Regions from separate parts of the Homo sapiens genome. Here all the other regions are linked to region 4. Evidence: promoter capture Hi-C in human tissues and cell types (Jung and others, 2019). All regions are on one chromosome and are shown on one strand. The core of a region is centred on a gene start or on the middle of the fragment in contact, and the rest is flanking DNA. Distances in the headings are between cores, read along the strand shown.

Region 1 (3,446 bases), core at 301-2,800, 200 kb before region 4:
GTGGAGGTTGCAGTGAGCCAAGCCAAGATCTTACTACTGCGCTCCAGCCTGGGCAACAGAACCAGACCCCCTCTTTGTATTTCTTACACCAACCCAATGAGACAAGTACCACTGACCCAATTCTATATGTATAGGAAACTAAGGTTCACAGGGAGTTGTCCAAGGTTTCAGTGATTAGTTTACATTCCTGGTTCTGCAGCCTATACAAGTTTGTCTGCCTATATCTATATTTTTTCCTGCCTCCAAAGCAGGTGACACTTGGATATTTACACAGAAATTTGTCAGGCAGTTGTTTGGTAAGAGGACCAGAGAAACGCACTGGGCTGGAGTCTGTGACAGAGTACAGCCTTGAGAGAAGTACGTGGGGCATGGCAAGCAGAAACTAAATATGCTATCAGAACAAGAATTTTGGAATTAGAGCACACAGTGGTATTCAGCTTGGCGTCCAGTAATTAGACCATTAAGGATTGGATTGAGGCTGAGGATCTAGAGCTCTAAAAATCAAGTCAGAATTTCTCTTAGGAGTTAGGGATGCCCAGATTCTGTGGATGTGTTTAAAGTGGCAGCAACTGCAAAGAGGATCGCTGCAGAGACTGGGCGTGAGGCTGCCATTAGTTGCTTCATTTCTCAGTCACCTGTAACCATTCTTCATTCCATGATACTAGATCTACTATTCCCTGATAAATCAGCTGAACAGACGAGCCTACCAAACTCATGGTTTGATGCCCTCTGCAATACCAAGTTTCATCTGTGTCCTTATGGCTGATAACTGACTTGCATATCTAGCTTCCCGACTTCTGGCTTAATCTTAACCTCTTAAATTTGCCTGCCCCTACAAATCCTGCCAATCGGGATTCCTTTTTGCCTTCATATTACTGATTTCAAACTTGTTTTGTTCCTTTTTTACATTTAATTGTTTATTTATAAAAATAGTTCACATATATAGTTTTAAGAGTAACATGTGGTGTAAGACTTACAATAAGGAACAATCAGTTCCCTACTCTTCCCCATTATTCACTAGCAACCCCTTTCAGCTCTTATAAAAATGGAGAGAAAGTGAGTCTTTTGTTTACTTCCTATGGTTACCTCCAGCATAAAGCCACACTTCAGGTGAGCCCTGCCCCCAGATGCAGTCACTTAGGCCAATATTTACTTAAACCAAATTTTTTGGTTATTGTTCTAGAGTTCAGTTCATAATCATACTTCTCATTAATACTTCTTAAACATTTTGGCCTTCCAGGCCTTTTCTTGCTTGTTGGTATGCATATGTGTATTAATTTCTTTTTACTTCCATTCCCACTTCTATTCCCCTCTGAATCCTTAGGCAAACATTGTAGTATGTTTGTTCGTATCCTTTGGTAGGCACTCTTTTTAAAAACAATTAAAATAAAAATTTTTAAACAACCACAAACTTACAAATTCAAAGAACTATTTTCCTGAACCATTTGAGGGTGAGTTGCCAACCTCTGATAGTTTCACCATTCCTCTGAATATTTTAAAGTGTATTTCCTACAGACAAGTGCATTCCACATCATTATAATTATTATCAACAATTATGAAGTTAATAATTCTCAGCCCCCATTTAGTTTTGTCAGTTATAATAATGTTCTTCATAGCAGAAGGATCTGGTTCAGAGCCAAGTATTTGCTTTTAGTTATCCTGTTTGTGTAGTCTCTTTCAGCCTGTAATTGTTCCTTAGTCATGTCCTAGACTTTCATGACCTTTATAGTTTCGGCAGTACAGGTCACTTACTTTGTGGAATCTCCTTCAATTTGGGTAAATTTTCCCTATGTTCTTTATATTCTTTTTAGGTGGTACATGATTTTGATTTGTCTCATTTCTGGTGATGTCCACTTGGGTCACTTAGAAGATGTTTGCCAAGCTTCTCCACTATCAAGTTACTTTTTCCTTGTAATTCATGAGTATTTTGTGAGGAGGTGCTTTGAAACTACATAAACATCCTATTGCTATTGAACTTCTAATTTATTCATTTATTTATATCTCAATGGACTCATCTCCTATTTCATTAAATGGGTAGTAATGGTATACATTCACATAAAGTGTGTTTTACATGCATGCATATTACATTGGCATAAATAGTATTATTTTAATATATAACTATATAAAAGTATTAAAATATTATCTACATCGAGAAAGTCATATCTAGAAGGGTCAGGATAATTATCTGATTGGTAGTAAGACTCCACCGTAATGAGATAGGTGGGGTTCAACATATTTAATTAGGCCGGGTGCAGTGGCTCAGGCCTGTAATCCCAGCACTTTGGGAGGGTGAGGGTGAGGACTGCTGAGACCAGGAGTTCGACATCAGCCTAGGCAACATAGTGAGACCCTGTCTCTACAAAAAATAAAAAACATTAACCAGGTGGGGTGGCATGTGCCTATAGTCCCAGCCACTTGGGAGGTTGAGGCAGGAGGATCGCTTGAGTCCGCGAGGTTGAGGGTGCAGTGAGCTATGATTGCACCACTGCATTCCAGCCTGTGTGATAGAGCAGACCCCATCTCAGAAACAAAATTTGATCACACTAGTGTTATTTCTAGCTGGCCCGGAGTTACAGGAATCCAGCTGCATGATCCAAATCTGACCTGGTCCTAGCTGTGGTTTGCTGCCACCTGGTGACAGTTGTCCACTTGAGTATAAATATAAATGGGGACAAATCTGGCTAAGACTTCCACACATTGGCAGCAATTTCAGGTATGGTTAGTTGATGCCAAGTTCTTTGGCACAATCCTGGGAGATTGGGCGAGGAGAATGCTGTGAATGAGAAAGACCCATTCTTTGCTTCCTTGCTTTCTAAGACAGGTGGCCTATTTTCTTCTTCTAGGCCTTGCTTTGCCTCTGTGAGGGCCATACTGAATGGTAGGTAACTGCGTTTACTGTTCTATTGATGATTTTAATTTTATCTTAAGTTTTCTTCATATTAACAAGTATGGGGCCGGGTGCAGTGGCTCAGGCACTTTGGGAGGCCGAGGCAGGTGGATCACTTGAGGTCAGGAGTTCAAGACCAGTCTGGCCAATATGGTGTAACCCTGTCTCTACTAAAAGTACAAGAATTAGCTGAATACAGTGGCGCACACCTGTAATCCCAGCTACTTGGGTGACTGAGGCATGAGAATTGCTTGAACCCAGGAGGCGGAGGTTGCAGTGAGCTGAGATTGCACTGCTGCACTCCAGCCTAGGCAACAGAGCAAGACTCTGTCTCAAATAAATAAATGAAAATTGTAATTAATTTTTAACAAAGGAAAAAAAAGCAGTTAAGATGGAAGGCCCAACTGTTTTAGCAGTAAGAGAAACCATGTGGATGATTTGTGTAGGAACTATTTTCCAGCACTTCAGAAATTTGTTTCAAGTATTTATTTAAGGCCTACTATCTGTACTTGGTTCTGAGTATGTAAAAATATTCTCTCTCCCTCTGTCTCAAAAAAAA
Region 2 (3,837 bases), core at 349-2,848, 210 kb after region 4:
CCACTTACCTGCAATTCCACAGAGTCCTCTTTTTCTGCAAACCACCCCCTTTCAGGCTTCTCTAGGAAGATGAGTTCCCTCAAACCTGCTGGGACCTCAGGAAGCAAAACCTCCAGAAATACACAGGCTTGTGCTCATTCCATGAAAGGAAAAATGACTTGTCTATTCCCAGGGTTTCTCAACCTTAGCACTATTGACATTTTGTACCAGATAATTATTTCTTGAAGGATGTTTAGCAGCATCCTTGGCCTCTGCTCACTAGATGCCAGTAGCACTTCTTCCCAGTCATGGCAATCAAAAACATCTTACCTACTAGGAGAGCACATGTGACCACAGGGTGAGAGATGGAAGGGATCCCAGCAGATACCACAGTCACCCACAAAGAGGCCTGGCCAGGCAGTCAAGAGTTGCTGGCTCTGACACCAACTCCTAGTGAGCCTTTGGAAAGATCCTACCCTTCTCTGGACCTCAGTTTATCCTCTAACATGTTTGGGTTGGGCCCTTCTGGACACAGATAGCTCTAAGTGATTCTGCCTTGACAAGTAATATGTCTTCTATCTCTTACAATTTGGGCTGAGGCCAGCAGGAAGAAAACAACACTGAGCCTTCCACCCATTAATATTTCACTTCTCACTAGCCATTTAAAAGCCACTGACAGAATTAACTCCTGAACAAGGGAATGTGTCATTTTCCTCTTGTCATGCTTGCAAAGTGACAGGGCCTACCAGGTCACAGTCTTCAAATGACTAATTGCCAAGAACAAGGCTGTGGCGCTCAAGGTCAGATCCCTATGTGTGTGTGAGTGGGAGAGACATGTGCATGCACTTGCACACACACACGCGTGCACACATGCTCACACACGCGTGCTGCACAGACATGCACATGCACACTTACACACAACCTGCCATCTGGGAGCTGACTTACCGGTCAGCATAGCGCAAGGTGTTGAGAGTGTGTTCAGTGGCCACGTGGCTTGGTGAGATGTTGGCGATCATGCAGGTTTTGGCATTGCCGATGAAAGAGTCCTTCAGGACCTGTCCAAAACAGAAGGCAGGTCAATGAGTGAAGTCAATTAACAAAGTGCATACTGACTACTTACTAGGTGCAGGATGCTGGGCCATAGTTCCCTTCTGTCCACAAAAAGGTAATTAACATTAACAAAAGAAAAAATACAAATGGCCAATAAACACAGAAAAAGGTACTCACCACATCACTAATCCAAAAAATGCAAACAAACCATTAAAAAAACCAATATTTTTAACTCATTAGATTAAGAGACTAACGATGCCATTCCTTGGTGAGGGTCCAGGGAAATGAGTACTCTTCTACGCTAGCATGTACCATGAACTGGACAAGCTTTCCAGAGGGCAGTTTGGCAATATGTATCAAAATGTAAAAAGAAGCCAGGTACAGTGGCACTCACCTGTCTGTAGTCCCAGCTACTCAAAAGGCTGAGGCAGGAGGATCGCTTGAGCCCAGGAGTTCAAGACTAGCCTGGGCAACATAGCAAGAACCTGTCTCAAAAACAGGAAAAAGTATGTTTTGGTTTGGCAATCACACTTCTAGGACTTTATCCTAAGGAGATAATTGCCCAATTGACCAAAAAAAGTATATATGATATTCATTACATTATTTATAATAGTAATATTTAGTAAAAATCTAGGTATCTATAAACAGGGAACAAACTAAATAATTATACACTGAATATAATAAAACCATTAAAAATGATTATACCTGTACTTAGGAACACAGAAAGATATCTAAAGCTTCTATCTTCGAGGGAAAAAGGTGTATGACTCCATAACTCCGTAAGCAGATCCATATGAGGCTATGCGGGCAGAGAGATGACTAGAAGGAAGTTCACTAACGTAGCAGTGTGTGGTTATCACTGAGGTCTGGGACTTTATCTTTTACTTTCTTCTTTATACTTGTATGTACAATTGGAATTCTTATGTTTTAATTAAAAAGAAACACATTTTCTGGAAATGGGGAACTTGTCTTAAAAAATAACAGAGCTGGCTGGGGACGGTGGCTCATGCCTGTAATCCTAGCACTTTGGGAGGCCAAGGCGGGCAGATCACCTGAGGTCAGGAGTTCAAAACCAGCCTCGCTAACATGGCGAAACCCCGTCTCTACTAAAAATACAAAAGTTAGTGAGGCATGGTGGCACACACCTGTAGTCCCAGATACTCCAGGGGCTTGTGGCAGGAGAATCGCTTGAACCCAGGAGGTGGAGGTTGCAGTGAGCCAAGATCACACCACTGCACTCCGGCCTGGGCGACAGAGTGAGACTCCCTCTCAAAAATAAATAAATAAATAAGTAAAAAGCAACAGAGCCAATGCCAGAATCAGGACTAACCACCTATAAGTAGGTTCCTGGGTCCCTGGTTAAAATCATGTTTGAGAAGACCTAACCTACAGATCACCAACTGTGATGGGTAAGGAACTATGTTTTTACAGGTTCTGCCCAAGTACTATGGAGCCGCTACTCTAGCTGCACAGAATAAAACTCTGCCCATGTGCGGGGCTGGCTTCATCCTGCAGCATACAAAAAAATCTTCTCCTAGACATCTCTCTACCTTGTCTGTCTTCCACTGTGCACAGGACACAAGGCGAAAAAGAACCCAGGACACCCACAACTGTCTTCACAGCTGTTTATACCTAGGTACACCCTCCCATGCCACTCTTCCGCAGCCATTATGAATGCTGATTTAACATCTACTGGAGTTTTTTGTTAATAAAGAGGCACACTTTCATGACAGAAAAACAAAACAAAACAAAAACCCTATTTGTTCCACTAAGAATAATCATAGTTAACATTTATGTCATTTTTTTGTGTAGTGTTTTTTTCCATGTCGCACATTTTAAAAATGATAAAAACAGAAAGTGGTCATACAGTACATGATCTTTTAACATGAAAAGTTGCAGTTTCACCTTTACTCCCATTGTTACTTCCAAATAGATCCAATGCTGTTTCTTCTGCATCTTTTTAAACGTTTTTCCCTGTGTGGCTGCGTAATAGTAGAAATCATATAGGCAATCACATTATTACCTTGTTCTACAGCTTGCTTTTTTCACATCACAATAGATCTTGGTCATCTTTCCTATCAGTACATATAGAAAATCTAGCTCATTCATTTTAACTGCCTGAAGCCATTATTTTTTTGTGCCGAAACAGTGGTCTAAGTCTTAGAGCCAAGAAAGTATCAGGTAGCTACGTCACCCTATTCAATGCAAAGGCTTAGAGATTTCACTAATTCAACATTTTCTTTTCTTTTTTAAGATGAGGTCTCTTTTTGTCGCCCAGGCTGGAGTGCAGTGGCGTGCTCACAATTCACTGCAGCCTCAACCTCCAGGGCTCGAGTAATCCTCCCGCCTCAGCCTCCCAAGTAGCTGGGACCATGGGCCCACAGGCACGAGCCACCACACCCAGTTAATTTTTAAATTTTTTATAGAAAGGTTGTTTGGGCTGGTCTGGAACTCCTGGGCTCAAGTGATCCAATTGCCTCAGCTTCCCAAAGTGCTGGGATTACAGGCATGAGCCACTGTGCCCTGCCCAGAGTTACCATACACTGGAAATAAACAGAAAGGTGGTGACCAGAACAGCACTGCTCTCCCCAAGGAACCCCTGCCACCCCATCCTGAAGATATCCCTGCCTGAGTCTGCCCCTTCCTAAAGTCCTATGACAGGCTGAGTATCCCTTCTCCGAAACGCTTGGGAAGAAAAGTTGTTTTGGATTTCAGATTTTTTTTCAGATTTTGGAATATTTGCATTATCCTTCTGGTTGCACATCCCTAACCCAAAAATCTGAAATCCTTTGAGCATAATGGCACTCA
Region 3 (3,327 bases), core at 814-3,313, 150 kb after region 4:
GATTAAAGTCCCACATTGATTTATTTTGTTGCTCAAGTTGTTTTATCTTTGGCCATTGAGAGCTCTTTCAGATTGGCCTTGGCCTTAGAATCTGTCATTTCTCCAGAGAATAGGGCTTGTTTCTCTGTCAGTCTGATCTTCATTCCTTTGTAAAGACTTCATTTGTGGTATCTTGATAACTTTTAGGAGCCACCCTTTTAGGAGGGGGTTTGTTAGTGCTATTACGGTTTTATTTTTTAAGAGATTATGATTAGGATGGATAGATGTTTAGTTTGCCAACCTGATCTAAACTTTTAATTTTTGCTAAACAGAATTTGTAGCATTTAGAGCTATATGCTTTAGAATTTTTCATTGTATGATGTTTAACATACAGAAAAAATATGAATGTAAAACATCTAAGTTATGAGGCATAATAATAAACATTTGCAAGCTTATTAGTTGTCTTGAAAACTAGAGCATTACCAATACATTACTATTTATTTATTTGTCTGTTTCTGTCCTATCCTATCCTTTTACTACTCCACAGAGTTAGCTGTTCTCCCGAATTTTGGGTTTATCATTTCCTTCCTTTTATAAACCACATGATATATATTCCTAAATAATATATTGTTTATTTTTGCTTAATTGTGAGCTTTATAAAAATGTTAAACTGTATATAGGCTTAAGTGATTTTATTTTTTTTTGAGATGGAGTTTCGCTCTTGTTGCCCAGGCTGGAGTGTGATGGCGTGATCTTGGCTCACCGCAATCTCCGCCTCCCGGGTTCAAGTGATTCTCCTGCCTCAGCCTCCCGAGTGAGTAGCTGGGATTACAGGCATGCGCCACCATGCCTGCCTAATTTTTTGTAGTTTTAGTGGAGACGTGGTTTCTCCATGTTGGTCAGGCTGGTCTGGAACTCCTGACCTCAGGTGATCCACCAGCCTTGGCCTCCCAAAGTGCTGGGATTACAGGTGTGAGCCATGGCACCCAGCCTTGTTTTAGTTCTTTATTTTAGAAAGTTCCAAACTCATAAAAGTAGATTTGGCTGGGCATGACTCATGCCTGTAATCCTAGCACTTTGGGAGGGTGAGGTGGCCAGATCACCTGAAGTCAGGAAGTTCGAGACCAGTCTGGCCAACATGGTGAAACCCCAACTCTACTAAAAATACAAAAATTAACGAGTGTGGTGGTGTGTGCCTATAATCCCAGCTACTTGGGATACTGAGGCAGGAGAATCACTTGAACCCCAGAGGCAGAGGTTGCAGTGAGCTGAGATCGTGCCACTGCAGTCCAGCCTGGGTGGCAGACTGAGACTGTCACAACAGCAACAACAACAACAGCAACAACAAAAATGTAGATTAATCCTGCTTTGTAAAAACTCTTATTTTTTTCTACTCACACACCACCACAGCAATTATCAACACAGAAAAAGAATTCTGTGGCCAAATGTGTGGGCAGTTTTCCCCACACACCAAGCAGCTGCCACCAGTTGGGTGTTCTCCAGTTCAATGCCGACACTGTCTACCTGGAGATAGTGTCAGATCCCACTGGTTGAATGCGCAGTCTCCAAGATTGCCCCCTAGCACTCATCAGTCACAAGTCTGGGCCTCAAGTGCTTCTGACCACCAGCTTCACTCATGTCAGGGTTCCCTCGGTCCTCTCTTTAGGTTTAATTTGCCAGAGTGTTTCACAGAACTCAGAGAAACTCTTTTATGTTTACTGGTTTATTCTAAAGGCGATTGCAAAGTATACAGATGAAGAGATTTGTCTGGCAAGGTAGGGGGGAAGGTGCACTGACTTTCCATATCCTCCCTGGGGTGTCACCATCCACGAACCTCCGTCCAGGTGTTCAGCTAGCCAGAAGCTCTCCAAATCCAGTCCTCTTGAGTTTTTATGGAAGCTTCATGATGTTAGCATTCCTTCTCCCAGAGTACAGAGTGGGAGTCTCCGTCTTTTTCTTTTGAGACACGCTTTCACTCTGTTGCCCAGCTGGAGTGCAGTGGCACCATCTTGGGTCACTGCAACCTCCACCTCCGAGTAGCTGGGATTACAGGCATGCACCACCACGCCCGGCTAATTTTTGTATTTTTAGTAGAGATGGGGTTTTACCATGTTGGTAAGGCTGGTCTCAAACTCCTGACCTCAAGTGATCCTCCCGCCTCAGCCTCCCAAAATGCTGGGATTGTAGGAGTGAGCCACCCTGCCCTGCCTGTGAGAGGGGCTTAAGACTCACAATGAGAAAGGGGTATTGGGAGAGATAGAGTTCTACCTTAGGACAGTTGAAGGGAGGGTGGGAAAAGATTTGAGAGATTCTGTTTTCTGAGGCCTGACATACCTAGCATTATAACAGAAGACTCCAGCAAGGGCTATGGGAGTTATGGGCCAGAAGCTGTAGACAGAAACGTGTGTGTGTGTGTGTGTGTGTGTGTGTGTGTGTGTGTGTGTGTGTGTGTGTGTCCCCGTCCCCGTATATGTATGTATCATAACACCATACAGCCCCAATAACTGTCAATCTTGTTTTATATACATACCCTCTGCCCAGTTATTTTAGAGCAAATCCCAGTCATATCATTTAACCTGTCAAGTTATTTTTGTATATCTCTGAAAGATCACATAAATTACTATAATAGCATTATCCTACCTATAGAAAATGAACTTATTCCTTAATATTATCAAATATTCATGTTTTCTCAATTTTTTTATTGTGTTTTCCTCATGTGTTTGGATTGGGACTCAAATAAGGTCTGTAAGTTAGTGATTGCTTGAGATGTATTCCTTAAGATCTTTTTCAGTCTGTAGGTTCTCTTTTCATCTTGCTTTTTTTGTGTTGAAGGAAACTGAATCACTTTTTCTAAAAGTTTGCTACAGTCAGGATTTTGCAGTTTAATTCACTACTATTTTAATTAGGATTTGGGTATGTATGGATAAAACATAAATAATCAGCTAGGTGTGGTGGTACATTCCTATAGTCCCAGATACTTGGGAGGCTGAGGCAGGAAGATCTTTTGGGCTCAGGAGTTTGAGGCTGCAGTGAGCAATGTTCATGCCACTTCACTCCAACCTGGGCTGTTCAGAGCAAGACCCTGTCTCTAAAAACAAGGATCAACAAAAATTAAATATGCTTTCATTTCTGGTTCTTTTTTCTCTTTTCTCTGTCAGTTTTTGGTATCAGTGTTATGCTGATCTCATACGAGAACTTGGAATTCAGCAACATTCATTCAGCAGGAGTTACTGAGCACTACTGTGGCCGGGCACTATGCTTGGTGTAATGGTGAATGAGACAGAAGTGGTATTTGTCCTCGTAGTGCATAAAGGCAAGTGGGGAAGACAGACAATAAACAAATCCTGA
Region 4 (3,407 bases), core at 553-3,052:
TCTCCCATGCCACCACTTTCGGGCATATTTCAATCACAACAAAAACCTTCCTTCTCTGAAAGGTTTCATAATTATTGAGGGTGAGAGGCAACAGGGAAGCAAATGGGGGAAATCAGCGCTGTGGGAAAATCTCTCGTCACACGTATCAACTAGCCATAAGTAGGAAAATCAGGAGTATGCTGGCAGCAAGCAAAAGGGCAGTTTGGGAAACTAATCACTTCTGCCTAATGATAAGAGAAGCCTTCAAAGCAATGGAAGGACAACCCTAGCGAAGGGGCTCCACAGGTGAGTGTATTGAAGGAAACTATCATCTCCAGGGAGTGGAATACATTCCCTTTCCTGAGGTAAAAGGGGAACACACCAATGTAGGATACGGGAGAGCTTAGGTATCATGTTCAACTTCCTTCCACCTTTCACAAACTGGCACTAAAACGGATACACAATTCACAGTGAAAAGTGAGGAATGCAATAACTAGTCGCATACCCCTTGTTGAAAAAAGTGCTGTCACAACGGAAGAGGAATATAAGAACTGGGTTCACCCAAGAAATTATATGCCCTTCAAATAAAAGATAATCTTTGGATACCTTATGGAGACCTGAAAAAACCCTCAACTAGCTGAGCACCGTGGTGCACACTGTAATCCCAGATACTCAGGAGGCTGAGGTGAAAGAATCGCTTAAACCCAGGAGCTGGAGGCCAGCCTGGGCAACATATGGAGACCATATCTCTAAAATTAATAGTAATTTTTTAAAATCTCTCAACTGTTAGGATACACTGGTGCTGTAGAAAGACAATAAGCCTAAATACTGGCAAACCATATACCTTCCTTGAATGTGAGGTAAAAACAATATCCAATAGAAGTGGTAGTAAATGACTGGATTACATCAAACAGGAAATAACAGTAATAATGATGGGATCAACCCCTAAAGCGAGCAAGCATTAGAGACCAGAGTGGTGACAGTTGAGATGCGTGGGCAACTAATTAGACTAAAAACTCAGGGGAAAATGTGGAAAAGCCGAGTGGGAAAGTGATTCAGAGGCAAACAACTGAGTTGTAATGCACCAATGAAAGAATAACATTTTGAGTATGTATTATTAACAGAGAGAGCTTTGCCGTTTACAAAGCGCTCAAAAACCTACATTAAATAATGAACTGTGATATAACCAGACTACAGGAACGGCGGGTGTGGAGGAAAACTGAGTCCCAATTGAGACCAATGCCCTACAGAATTGAAAAGAAGTAGAACTGAACTGTGACTCCGGGTAAGCCAGGAAAGGTTAGAGAGCGCATAAGTTGGGGCTATAACAGGGCCAGTCCCAAGACTAGCTACGGGCGTGAAAGCGGAAAGGTGATGAGATGGGACCGACAGCGTGGCGGGGAAGCTCCAGTCTACTGGCAGGCACCGAGGTGGGAGAGAAAACCACACCCTCCAGGGCAGAAACCCGAAAGGGGGGAGGGGAGGCACCCCTGGGGCTGGGTGGGGCCCAGCCGACCTGGACGGGGGAAAGTAGGAAGAAGCACAGGGCAACGTGAGGGGAAGAGGAAGGAGGGAGCCCGGGCCTGGACGTAGAGGGACCGTGGACCTGGCGAGTGAAGCTCGGCCCGGTCCTCACGGGTGGGCGCCGGGGCAGTCTGCAGGCGGTGGGGTTTCAGACGAGCTGAACCCAGAATTAGAAAGCACACGCTGCAGCGCTCAGGGCCCTGGAAGAGGGAAGGAGAGGGAGAGGATGGCAATTACCGCTGCTGCTCTCGGAGGACCCAAGACCCGCTGCCGCCGCCGCCGCTCGTTACCTGCCAATGTGCCTCTTACAAAGCGGCGGCGGCGGCACAGGCTGCCCAACCCGTCACGTGACCTCGCGTCACGGGCGAAGGAGGAGCCACAACACGTCGCTCGTGCGCGGCTTCAGAGTCAGCCTAGGCGGCGCGCGGCCTCTTCCAGCCACCACCTCCACCCCAACCCCGCGAAGCCAACCGCGTGGAGGTGGGGACCACAGAAAGGAACAAATAAGGGAGACTTGATAATATGTATTGTACTCGGAGTCATCAGGAGAGTATTACCCACCGCATACAAGGTGCCCACAACTGCAGCTCGTCGTCGCGCCGTGATGACCTCACAAAGCACCACAGGTTACTCCCCTGTGGCCGCCCTGTGCTCATCACGTGATGTGGTCCAACCACTCAGGGCAAGCCTGGCCTCCCAAATGTTGCACGAGGGGACCACGACTCCCAACATGCTGCACAGCCAAGGCGACCCCTACCGCAGCCTTTCTCCAGCGGGCTTCTAGACGAACCCCCTAGAGACCTTAGAGCCGAGGGAAGGCCGGGACGGAAAGCGGACTAAGCTGGCTTGAAGGACTAATACCATTGGATGCCGCCCGCCATGTGGCGGAGCGTGGTGCCTGCTGGGAGGTGTAGTCCTGGCGGGGGGTGGGGTTCCGCTCCCACGTTCCTGGGCTCGCTCTGCGCCCTGCCCCCTGCGCGGGAAAACGCCAACGGCTAGCAGCGAGAGCCTCGGCAAGGCGGAAGGTGCGCCCACTTTTAGTCTTTTTCAGTGCGGTTTTACTTTTGCCCTCCCAAGCCCCTTCTGGGTGAAAAGACTAGAATCTACTGAACGCCTACTCCAAGTCAGCCGTTTATTTCTGTTATATCATATAATCAACTCCTTGAGTCCAGGATTTTCCCTATTTAAGGATTTAAAAAAAGAACCTTAGAGTTGTTTGTTGACCGAAGAGACCCAGGTTTTCTGTCTTTAGAAAATTAATGACCTCCTCTCAATAGGATCTGACCTGTTGTCAACTCCAAGAATTACGAATAAATAAGATGATGGTTTATAATTGTAGCATGGTGTTTTAAAGTATTTTCCATTTACTGGCCTGTTTGGATGTGAGGGCGTTCTGGCTATCTTGTCACCCCATAGATCGCCAGGGCTGATTCGGCTGATCTGGCTGTCTAGGCGGGTGGCCCCTTCCTCCCGCACCTCTCCATGTGCGTCCCTCCCGAAGCTGCATATTCGGTCGAAAAGGAGGAGCATCCCCCATAGAAGAGGACAAGTCAAGGATATAGGAGTAGCTGCACGCCCGTGTTAACAAGCTCTCAAGGTCCTCTAAACAAGCTCTCAAGGTCTACTTACTGGCCTGTTTTATCCCAAGCTAGTTACATACAAGGACTTTGCAGTCCCGGCATGCCTTATCTCAATTGGAGCTTTCCTCTGTAATAACACTTCACCGGCTTGTGAAAATTAAATGAGATTATGTAAAATGCCTGCTTGACACATAATAAACCCTCAGTAAGTATCAGTAATCATTTTCACACTCTACCCATCGGGCCCAAAAGGTCTAAGTAAGGTAGAAAGGGGAAATTAGCTTATACTGAACTTTGTACAGGGCACTATGCTAATTACTAATT
Region 5 (3,786 bases), core at 1,113-3,612, 140 kb before region 4:
GTTGAATCAAATGCTTACACCCTCTCCCTATTTGAGAAAATAAGCTTCCCCTTTCCTCAAATACAAAGCCCCAAACAAGATTTTCCTCATTGCATTTTTATGCTGCTTGGCTGGATAATGTATTGCCACCACCCATGGGAATTCAGGCTTTTTATCCTTTACTTCTCTTGCATTTACACGCAAATGATGTCATTTGCCTTATCTCAGCTTAAAGTATTATGAACATTTTTTCTTTTAAAATAGGCCTACTTCTCATGTAATCCAGTCTTTTGGAGGCAGAGGATTCCTTTTATACTTATCTGCCCATCTGAAACTGCCTTTGTTACTTTGGGTACTAGCATCATTTTGTTTCCTCACACTTGAGTCCCCAGGCCACCTGAGCCACAATTTAGGGACATTCCCCATACTCAAATCAAGATTGTTTTCCCTGCTTTTATGCTGCTTTGTTTAGAAGCTTCCCAACTACAACTAGTTATGTGGAGTTACACCTAACATCTTCACACAGCTCTACAAGGTATTTGGGTTGGAAATTGTTTACCTTCTTAGACTTTTTATCACTTAGTTCTATGTAATCATTGGGTAGTCCTTCAACATTTTGATCTTATTGGTGTTTTCGGGGGCTGTGGGATGTTTTGTACACTTTTTGGAACCTCACCTGTCTGGAATACCTGGTGGTGCTCAGAACTCTGAGCGGAAGTCAGGAAAGCACTACCTAATGAGCAGATGTGGAATACTTTCGCTTATCCCTTTTGTTTCTGTGTTCACTTGGTTGTGAGACAAGGGAGGTTTTAAAGTAGTAAACTGTTATATTTTCTAACAGGTCATTTATGGCACTGAAATATTAAGAGGGAAGATACAAGATGTAGTGGAAATGGGCAACTATTTTCCTTCTTGTACCTCTCTGCTGCTAAATTATCTAGGGCCAGCAACTGTCTAAGGGTTCTGGGCTCCATGTCCAGTTTATGGGTGGCTGTAGTAAGACAGCAGTGGAGATGGCATAGGGTTCATCTCATCCTGTTTTGGAGTCTTATCTGCTGCCTCTCACTGGCATCTGAAAGTGATTCCATATTCACGTATTTGGTTTTCTTCTCCATAACCACGTGTACTCAAGACTATTGTTCAGCACCTCAATGGACATATTTATAACATAAAGTGGCAAATGGAGCACTTTTGTAACTTGAAGAATAAGGGACTCCAGTTACCTTCAAGAGTCTAAGTCAGTCTGTATTATCAGATCTGGTGAGTAGTGAGAGTTAGCCAACCTGAAAAGGAAGAATTTTAGGGATGCAGAGAATCAGCCAACTGGTGTTCACTAAAGGCTCGGTAGCTTGCTACCTCTTGGGAAAACCAGCATACTTCTTTTGAAAGAAAACATCCACAGGCCTCCTCCTCCCAGAGGCCCAGGATTAAATTGGTGGGGCTGGAGGTGGTGGGGAGAGTTTCTTCCTGAATTGGAAAGTTTTAAGGAGTAGGCATTTGTCAGCAAGAATGGAGTTGGGAGTTGCCACACGTCTTTGATTAGAAGTTCACAGCATTATGCCTCTTCCTGATGGAGGAAACAAAATGTGCCTTAATACATGATTTGTCTAGAATGATGTGGGAGCTTTGGGGATAGGGTAGGGTGGGAGTGGGAGTAGCAAAGCCCTCAGACTTTGCTATAGAGTTCACAGCTGCTTTCTGTGAGACACCATCCCCAGAACTACTATCTGCTATAGGCTCTGGGATGGTGAAGTGGTCTTGGTGTGGATTTGCTTTATGTTGAAAGAGGCATACATAATGTTTTCTTTTTCAATTTCAAAAATAAAGCGTGAAACCAAATTTATTAACCCAATCAAGAGAGGCTGTTGTTTGGTATAAAAGAGTCTGTCTCAGAAGTGGGGTAGGATATTTTTCTGTCTAGTCTTAAGAACAGAGAGCCAGAGACATCACCCCTAGCATTGGGTGCCAAAGTAAGCACAGTCAGGGGAAACAGGCATAACCATGCTGTTCCTAAAGCTCTTTTAAACCCAATTCTGGAACAGTGTGGTTTTATTTATTTGCTTCCTTGGTTTTTGTGCATGGGGTCCCACTGCCCTCAACCTGCCAATTCCATTCTCTGCAGATGATACATAATTTGGGCATTTAAAAACTGTAGTTGTATTCCTACCTTGCATTCTCAGGGATACATCAGTCAGCAGCAGATCCAGCACTGCACAGAAGGAGGTGTTATATTTGTTGGTTGCTTTAGCAGCCTAAAGAGAAACTTTATAATAATGTAAACCCGTTAAGCTACTATATTTTACCATCAGTTGCCCTGTTTTCCCTATCATAACAGGCTTCTTTATTCTTTGTCATGATGTCCTCTTTAAATCCCTCCCCCACATTGAAACATGCAATGAGGACTGAGCTTTAACTAGTCATCTGTAGTTACTGGCCCATCCTTTGATAGAGTGGAAATGAGAGATTTTAAGGACCCAGGACAACTAGAAAGGTCAGGGTAGAACCCAGAGTCAGTAAGAGTGGTAGTAACAGTATGCAGGATTTAGGTTTGGCTCCAGAGACCTGGACTTCACACATCAACTGTCATCACATTACGCTGGGTCTATAAAACTCAATATCTAAATCAATCTGCGTGTGTGTTTGTGTGTGTGCACATGTGCATACATGCATGCTTGCCCATGATTATGGCGTGAAGTAAGTTCAGGTTTTGTTGTTGTTGTTGTCGTCGTCGTCGTTGTTGCTGTTGTTGTTGTTGTTGTTGTTGTTTTGAAATGGAGTTTTGCTCTTGTTGCCCAGCTGGAGTGCAATGGTGCGATCTCAGCTCACTGCAAACTCCGTCTCCTGGGTTCAAGCAATTCTCCTGCCTCAGCCTCCCAAGTACTTGGGATTACAGGCATGCACCACCATGCCCAGCTGATTTTGTATTTTTAGTAGAGACAGGATTTTTCCGTGTTAGTCGGGCTGATCTTGAACTCCCAACCTCAGGTGATCCGCCCACCTCGGCCTCCCAAAGTGCTGGGATTATACTTGTGAGCCACCACACCTGGCATAAGCTTAGATTTTTTGGTTTTTAGGAATAAGCCCTTTCTACTTCTCCCATGCTGTCTGGAGGGATGATATATACATGGGAGGTGGGACCAGGGGAAGGTGCCAGTCTGTAATCCTTCAAAATTATGAACTTTTCTTGCTTGGTTTCCAGGCAGACCCTCGAGCCAGGTCTTATTTGTGATGCTAGGGCTATCACAACCCTGTTAAAGTTATGCTTATGGTGACATAGTAGCTAACAGAGAAAGGGTTATCGACATGTTGAAAATGGGCAAATGGAGTATTACGCATTGGGTCATACAATCCTAATTTCCAATTTCCCTTAAATACTTCTTTAGGCCAGGCGCAGTGGCTCATGTCCTTAATCCTAGCAACTTGGGAGGCCAAGGCAGGTGGATTGCTTGAGCCCAGGAGTTCAAAACCAGCCTGGGCAACATGACGAGATTCCATCTCTACCAAAAAAATTAGCCAGGCATGGTAGTGTGCACCTGTAGTCCCAGCTACTCAGGAGGCTGAGGTGCAAAGATCACTTGAGCCCAAGTGGTCAAGGCTTCAGTGAGCTGTAATTCTGCCACTGCACTGGAGCCTGGGGGCCGGGTGAGACCCAAGTTTGCTTTGTCTTTTAAACACATATGAGCTCTGCAGAACTTCACAGCTTGATTTGCTGTTGGCTAGTCTGCAATATATATTATATATGATGTGTTGGTCTTCATTTTCTTTGAGGGTTTTTATTGTTTACAAACTTATTTTTTATTCAGAACA
Region 6 (3,573 bases), core at 994-3,493, 240 kb after region 4:
TGCTTGAGCTCAGGAGTTTGAGGCTGTAGTACGCTATGATTGCGCCTGTGAATAGTCACTATGTTACAGCCGCGTAACACAGCAAGAGCCCATCTCTGTTTAAAAAAAAAAAAAAAAAAGGAAGATCTAACTTTTAGAGCCCTGCTGTCATTCCTGAACATATTTCCCAGGCCTTAATCTCTGAGCCCACCCCAGAAAGATTCCTCATGGACAGCCTAAAATGTACTTCAGCTTTTATGCAAGGTATAAAAACAATTTATCCTCTACTTCTAGGAATTAATTTCAAGATCCTTAAGCTTTGTTTTCCAGTTTAAGAGGCACACTGAACATACATACTTTTGTCTACCCTTGTCAAAGCCCCACTATTATAGAAAATAAATCTTATTTAAAAATTGGTCAGGCACAGTGGCTGAAACCTGTAATCCTAACACTTTGGGAGGCCTAGAGAGGAGGATTGTTTGAGCCCAGGAGTTTGAGAACAGCCTGGGTAAGTAACATAGGGAGACCCTGTGTCTACAAAAAATAAAAATTAGCAGGGCATGGTAGCATGTACCTGTAGTCCCAGTTACCTGGGAGGCTGGGATGGGAGGATCACTTCAGCCCAGGAGGATGAAGCTGCAGTGAGCTGTGGTGGCACCACTGTACTCCAGCCTGGGCGACAGAGCAATACCTTGCCTCAGAAAAAGAAAAAAAAAAAATCAACAGGGTAAAGCATAACAGCATAAACAGGAAAGGGTGCCATCAATGGACCAGAACATTTCAGAAGCCCCAGAAAGGTAGGAAATAGATTAGATTAGACAATTAAATGGATATATATATATATACATGAACCCCACAGGCCATGACACTTGTAGAGTAAGCATAGGTCTTCCCTAGTGAGCCTCAGAGAAGCATCAAACCCAAGAGTTAATATATGCCTATTCCCCTGCTACAACTGAGGAATGCAAATATACAGGGCAATAAAATAATCTGGGCAATTCATTAAAGAAATGCGTTCAGAAAGAGCTAGATATCCTAACCTCCCTTCACCCAAATAAACCACACACACACACACACACACACACACACACACACACACACACACAGCACAGTGGCTTTTATTCCATGGCAATTGTTCTTTAAGGGAAGTGGGCATTCTGACTGGAAAGGGCTCCTAATGAGGGCATTGGAGCTTGATGGAGAAGCTGTGATTGAGCTAATTCGAGACTTCAACACCAAGAAGGTAAAAAAGAAAGGCAACTCTTCCTCAAGCATCCCCAGAGTAGCACCCTCTTTTATTTCGCAGTTGTTTGGTCAGGACTGAATTCTGAACACCTATACAATCTCAAGTGGCATATCTGAAGGTCCCCTTTTCACTGGAATAGTTATAGGAGAGAGGCCTGCCTAAGCCCACTCGCTGGCTTCTCCAGTTATGCTACTCAGTACCCTACTGACCCTCTACAATGGGGGCCTGCCCTATCATGGTCTCCCTATTGAACTGGAACTGCTCCCCCACTCCCCATTCCATTGCTTGCTTGGAGCATGCAAAACTTGTGCATCCTTTTGGACAGCTCCATAGAGGCTTAGATACCTTTGTTGCCGGGCTAGTCTCAAGCTGATTAGGTTTCCCTAGTCTTCCAGGAGGCTCAGCCTCAATTCACTCCTCCAACATCTCAAATCTGGTTAATTCTGTTATGACAGCCTTTAATCCTTCCACCTCCCCCATTCCCTCTAACCTCTATTCTCCCATTTCCTCCACAACTTCTTTTGCCTCCTACTCAGTTTAAGTCATCTGTTTCAACCTAAACAAAACTTCATGCAAGAAAAATATAATAGGTGTTTAAAAGCAGAGTTACTGAATACATTTCTAAATTACTATATTATGTTGCAAGAGCAATAGTTTAAGCCTAACAAGGGTTAAAACTCTAAAGAGAAGATTTTCTTTTCTTCTTATTGATTTCAGAAAACTATCATGGTGTTTACCCTAAGATTATTTAGAGGAAAAACAAGAGAAAGTAGAAAACATTATTTATAGTTTTTCCAGTATAATAATAGGTCAAAAGAACAGGAAGGGGTTTAAGTACGTGTTGATTTCCTGACTTCCTGAAATTATGACCTTCTTCATAGACCAAAATAAAAGGGAAAGTCTTTTGATAGACATTAGAATATTGAACACTTTAAAAAATATTAATGAAAAGCTAATTTACATTTTCCTATAGCTGAATTGACAGCTAGAAAATATGTATCTGATGCAGGAGCCTCATTTCACAAAAGGGCACTAATGTACCAAAGCATCTCATTAAAGCCTATGATTCAGTGATTCTCCGGGACTCTGGCTTAAAATAGCGATGAACAGATTTATCGCTTCCCACTCATATTCAGTACCTTTTTCTTCTATTTAGGAGGTCATAAAGCTGTCCACAGTAAATTTCATAGAAGCTGATCCACACAAAGAGGTGCTTTCTTGGCTGGGACACTTCTAGTTGCCTGAAGATATCTTTGGCAGCTAGAGCATACAATCCTGGGTTCTCATGAGTTCCTATCATGGTGTAGGTCTTTCCAGCACCTGTCTGTCCATAAGCAAAGCAAGTGGCATTGCCTCTGGGGAAAGGATAATTTGCATTACTTATGCATATTAAGAGAAGTATTAGTTTACCCATAGATTTTTAATGACAAAGGTCAAATGTAAACATAGAATCTTAGAGAAAATTCAGCTATAAACACATAAACCTTTAAGGAGAAGAGGACTTTACATTATAAGAACACAGGAAGAGGAAAAAAAATTCTCAAACTACTACACAAGTTTTCCTTTTTTTTTTTTTTTGTTTTTTGAAATGGAGTCTCACTGTCAACCAGGCTGGAGTGCAGTGGTGTGATCTCCACTCACTGCAACCTCTGTCTCCCGGGTTCAAGTGATTCTCCTGCCTCAGCTTCCTGAGTAGCTGGAAGTACAGGTGTGCGCCACCATACCGGGCTAATTTTTGTATTTTTAGTAGAGATGGGGTTTCACCATGTTGGCCAAGCTCGTCTCGAACTCCTGACCTCAAATGATCTGCCCACCTCGGCCACTCAAAGTGCTGGGATTACAGACATGAGCCACCACACCCAGCCTGAGTTTTCTTATAGTAATTTTCTTACAGAACCAGTAAGAGAAACAACTCTAGAAGATAAAGAAACAAGGGCTTTAAAGAAACCACTTAGCCAATAAGCATTTACTGAATTCCTACCCCATGCTAGGTGCTTTAGAGGATCCTAGAGATGATCTACTATTAATCTGAAAAGTTAAATTTAGTGAAAGAATAGAGAATTAAATACGAGAAATAACAGGAGATCATGTGATAAGCAAGATGGTAGTGACCACTCATAATTAAGGAAGTTTAGATAAAGGGGAAATTGATGTAAGCAAAGTATTTGAGGAAGGACTCACAAGAGTAGGAATTGGGCTGGGCCTTGAAGGCAGAAGCTGAAAAGCAGAGAGCTTCCACTGTGGAATAGGAATAGCGTGAACAGAGGCCACAGTAGTAAAGATGGCAGCAGGCACACCAAATCTTGAGGGGAAAAAAAAAGCCTGGGCTCTGGTTTCTGCCCTACCAT
Region 7 (3,673 bases), core at 805-3,304, 250 kb before region 4:
CCTCAATAAATCTCCTTTTAGATGTCACCTGCAGCAATTCCCACAGTTCACAATGATCTCCATGGCTTCCGTTGGCCTTATGGTGAGCTCTGCCAAGATCTGTATTCTTGGGCAAGACAGAATCCTTCTGAATCTCAGTCTCTTCCTCTATAAATGGAAATAATTTTGCTCTGCACAAATCACAATTAGCATGTTTGTGGGAAGTCAAACTGTGAAACTCAGCATAACTGAAAAGCAATGTACCACTGTTGCTTATGTGAAAACTCTTGTAAAGCTGTCAGGCACCATGCACCATCTAAGTACAGCAGTGTTAGGTATGAGCCCATCAGTGATTAGAGGGGATGTGGGGTGGAGAGCGGGTCTCTGAGCAGTGGATCTCCTGGCTTTGGGGAAGCTGGCTCGTTGGCCATGCCAGGAGCTGAACCTGAAGGTACTCTGTGTGTCCTCTCAACTCCACGGGCCCCACATTCGCATTTTTTCCAATTCCCTCTGGTTTCCATTTGCTTCCTCCCTCTAGCCCCCTGGCCATGTCCGATCTCAACACGAAGTTTCTGAGCTTTTCTCATTTTGTTCACCATCTCCAGAACATCTCTGCTTCTTTTACTTTTCAAAGAATTTAAACTTGAACTCTGCTCACTCCTGCCCATCACCAACCTGAGCTCAGAGTTGCTGAGAAGGGAAAGCACCCTCATAAGGAAGCTCCTCCTTTCCTTACATCATTAGACTTGATCACAGACAGCATCTCCATCTCCACACTACTCTGGCCAGGTTGTGCCTCAGTCAATTACACAACTGTGTCTTAGTAGCCTTGGTAGGGCCCAAATCAGGATATTCTCTGGGAAGATTCACTTGATACTAAGCCCAGCATAATCTCACTGCATCTAAAATAGAAAATTCTAGACCCACCCCTCCACATCTTCTTATTGATCCCAATATGTGACCCATTTACCATGTGCTAAAATCTCTACCTACTGCTGATTCTCAGATCAGATGGTAACCCAGATTTACCATGGTCCAAACTCTGACATCTGATCAGGGGCATGTCATTCTGGTTCAGGCTGTCAGCCCTGAGCAGGTGAGTCAGTTTGCATCACCCTAAGTGCAGGTTGCCAGGACAACCGTGAGGCTGCATAAAAAGAACCTATGACAGGATGCACATGAGAGAGACAAGTGGCTTCACATTGAAGAAGGGGAGGAGTGCGCCATTGGTTTTCCATCCTCCAGATGCACTGAGTAAGCTCCTACCTAACCTGTGTCCCCTCCTTCTTTGAAACACTTCCCATCCTTTTAAGCCTTGGTAGGAAGGAGAGCCATCTGGAAGCCCAGAATCCTATGGAATGCTAAGTCTCCCTTCTCCTTACCCCTTAGTGTTGGAATTCTGGATACCCAAAGTCTTGGATTTGACCTTTGTGCACAGTGACTGCAAAGAAGCATATTCATATTCACAAAAATGAGCCTTAGATAAGACTTTCCTCCTCTCGTGGGGGCTCCAGGAAACTGAAAAGCCAAGCTTGTTACCAATGCTTGCCCTTCCTTAAGTACATTATTAAATACATCCCCAATAGTTAAAAGGACTCCTAGACACCCAGGCCATTCTCCCTCCTTCTAACCCTCATCTCCTCGGCCTACGAAAGCCCAGCTGTGTGATCCGGGGATTGGTTTCCCCTGTCTTCCCCATCCCAGCATCCTTCCAGGAAATAGCCAGTCTCCCTCTCTGCTCTCAGAAGGCAAGTTTCCTTATCACCTGTGAATCACAAACCCACAGAGTGGCCAAACGTAGCCGAGCTGATGCAAGACCCTGGCAAGGGGAAAGCTGCAGGTGTGTTTGTGCTGGGAAGAACTGTGACCCTCACCTCACAGACACCTCCTCTCCTGATTCTTGGAAGGGTATAAGGACAGGCCTTCCACCACCAGTCAGGCACACTCTACCACCATGAATCCATTCCTGATCCTTGCCTTTGTGGGAGCTGCTGGCGAGTTTCATGACCTGCCTCAGGCCCCACCCACCCCCTTTCCTGGCAGACACATGCCCTGCCATTCTTGCCACCTCTCCTCTTTTGACTGCGCTCTGATATTCTATTTCCTCCATCTGACATATCTCCTTCCCATCCTCCTTGGGCTCTCTTTAAGCCTCACCTGTTTCACCTTTTCCCTCATTTCACTCCCACCACTGTCATTCATCCATATCCGAGCTGTGGTTGGAGAAGCTGGGAAGGGAGACCAGGTGGGGCTGGCCCATGAAATGAAGTGGCAGGCTTCAGGCTTGGCTCCAAGAGCACCAGTATAGCACCACTATAGCTGCTCTTAACCTCGAATGCACCTGGGGAGGTTCAAAAATTACTCATGCCAGAGATTCAACTCTAGAAGTTCTAACTTCATTTGTCTGGGGTGCAGCCTGTGTACTGGGCTTTTAAGCTTCCCAGGTGATTTTTAACGTTTCCAGGCATGCCGCCAAAGTTAAGAATTGCTCTTCTATTGGCCAATAACAAAGTCTACCTTTGTTATGCCAAAGTGAGCCTGGGGCTGCCCTCAACTCTGCCCTCACTGCACAGATCTGAGCTATGGGGGAAGCTAGTCATGGCCAGGTCTACCCAGACAGGGGGTTTTCCTAGCTTAGCCAAAGTATCCTGACAATCCAGGGCTCAAATAGCCAGGGCAAGTACACAGGTGATGAATAAAAGAGAGAAGCACTCAGTGGGTGAGACAACAACATACCAACTGCTACCCCACTGGAAGCATTTTGAGGACATTCCTTGCATCCTCAGCCTGGTGTCCCCAGGAGAGATCTGAGCCCCTGCAGGGTACCTAGCTACGTGCCCTGCAGACACAGAGACTTGGGAGCCACATCCAGTGATGCTCACCAGGGGTGGCAGCGCTCCCTCCCTTGCCTGGCCTCACTGGGCTTGTTAAGGATTTCTAATTGGCAGGAAGCAACCGCAGGCTGGGAGCACCACCCCTAACATGCTACTGACTTGCCTTCTCCCTTCCTATTTCCACTCCAGTTGCTGTCCCCTTTGACGATGATGACAAGATTGTTGGGGGCTACACCTGTGAGGAGAATTCTCTCCCCTACCAGGTGTCCCTGAATTCTGGCTCCCACTTCTGCGGTGGCTCCCTCATCAGCGAACAGTGGGTGGTATCAGCAGCTCACTGCTACAAGACGTAAGTGTGGGGCCCCTGACTGCAAAGCTCCCAGCCAGGCTGCCTGGGAGAGCTTGGCTTCAGCCCAGGGAAGTACTGAGGTTGGGTAAGACGGATGGGAGAGGTGGTGGAAAAGAAAACTTGTTGACAGCAGCTGACTCTCCAGAGCAAGGCCAATCCATGAAACAGCAAGGGTTGTGGTCATAAAAGCAGGCAGGGATAATCTTGGAGTTGTCAGAGCTAGTGACAAAAGCAGGCAAGTACCTTTTGCTGGTTAGCTACACATTAAAGCGACCTAAGACAGAGTTTTTGAAAATACTGATGCCTGTGTCCTACCCCAGGGCAATTAACTCAAACTTCTCAGGAAGACAGTGTGAATACCAGTGAGTATTTAACACTCTACCTCTGGTAACTGTAGAGTGTATAGACAGAGCTGAGAACCGCTGCCTACACGAAGAACTCTCAAACCTGAGTATGCGTCAAAACCACCTGCAGGCTTATTAAAGCACAAATCACTGGGTCCCATCCCCAA

What was found. The method cuts DNA at HindIII sites, captures the fragments that hold promoters and counts their contacts. A contact is called where the count stands out against the background at its distance.
Region 1: a contact is called between a fragment that was not itself captured here and the fragment with the promoter of UBAP2 in region 4, in 1 of the 25 tissues and cell types used here (liver).
Region 2: a contact is called between a fragment that was not itself captured here and the fragment with the promoter of UBAP2 in region 4, in 3 of the 25 tissues and cell types used here (liver, mesenchymal stem cells and spleen).
Region 3: a fragment that was not itself captured here is called in contact with the fragment with the promoter of UBAP2 in region 4 in 1 of the 25 tissues and cell types used here (mesenchymal stem cells).
Region 5: a contact is called between a fragment that was not itself captured here and the fragment with the promoter of UBAP2 in region 4, in 2 of the 25 tissues and cell types used here (hippocampus and liver).
Region 6: a contact is called between a fragment that was not itself captured here and the fragment with the promoter of UBAP2 in region 4, in 2 of the 25 tissues and cell types used here (IMR-90 fibroblasts and small bowel).
Region 7: a fragment that was not itself captured here is called in contact with the fragment with the promoter of UBAP2 in region 4 in 3 of the 25 tissues and cell types used here (dorsolateral prefrontal cortex, liver and mesenchymal stem cells).

What each region holds. Positions count from the first base shown.
Region 1 is chr9:33,849,787-33,853,232 of GRCh38, forward strand. All of the region lies in intron 1 of UBE2R2 (ubiquitin conjugating enzyme E2 R2), which reads left to right. Among named protein-coding and RNA genes, the nearest start is that of UBE2R2-AS1, 33 kb to the left of the region's middle. The HindIII fragment of the contact is 6,885 bases long and covers 1-3,446 here.
Region 2 is chr9:34,258,672-34,262,508 of GRCh38, forward strand. It overlaps KIF24 (kinesin family member 24), which reads right to left. Exons shown (of 13, transcript NM_194313.4): 10 at 925-1,034. Among named protein-coding and RNA genes, the nearest start is that of KIF24, 69 kb to the right of the region's middle. The HindIII fragment of the contact is 3,150 bases long and covers 24-3,173 here.
Region 3 is chr9:34,200,244-34,203,570 of GRCh38, forward strand. All of the region lies in intron 1 of UBAP1 (ubiquitin associated protein 1), which reads left to right. Among named protein-coding and RNA genes, the nearest start is that of UBAP1, 23 kb to the left of the region's middle. The HindIII fragment of the contact is 7,642 bases long and covers 1-3,327 here.
Region 4 is chr9:34,047,085-34,050,491 of GRCh38, forward strand. UBAP2 (ubiquitin associated protein 2) reads right to left here and starts at 1,803. Exons shown (of 29, transcript NM_001370062.2): 1 at 1,741-1,803. It also overlaps the pseudogene RN7SKP114. RefSeq lists enhancers at 913-1,769, 1,770-2,625, 1,906-2,435, 2,626-3,407 and silencers at 1,586-1,635, 1,786-1,875. The HindIII fragment of the contact is 41,306 bases long and covers 1-3,407 here.
Region 5 is chr9:33,903,394-33,907,179 of GRCh38, forward strand. All of the region lies in intron 3 of UBE2R2 (ubiquitin conjugating enzyme E2 R2), which reads left to right. Among named protein-coding and RNA genes, the nearest start is that of SNORD121B, 29 kb to the right of the region's middle. The HindIII fragment of the contact is 6,422 bases long and covers 1-3,786 here.
Region 6 is chr9:34,287,810-34,291,382 of GRCh38, forward strand. KIF24 (kinesin family member 24) reads right to left here. Exons shown (of 13, transcript NM_194313.4): 5 at 2,365-2,580. Among named protein-coding and RNA genes, the nearest start is that of KIF24, 40 kb to the right of the region's middle. The HindIII fragment of the contact is 4,720 bases long and covers 1-3,573 here.
Region 7 is chr9:33,793,641-33,797,313 of GRCh38, forward strand. It overlaps PRSS3 (serine protease 3), which reads left to right and starts at 1,921. Exons shown (of 5, transcript NM_002771.4): 1 at 1,921-1,973; 2 at 3,003-3,162. The coding sequence starts at 1,934. All of the region lies in intron 3 of UBE2R2-AS1 (UBE2R2 antisense RNA 1), which reads right to left. RefSeq lists an enhancer at 2,470-2,970. The HindIII fragment of the contact is 4,072 bases long and covers 19-3,673 here.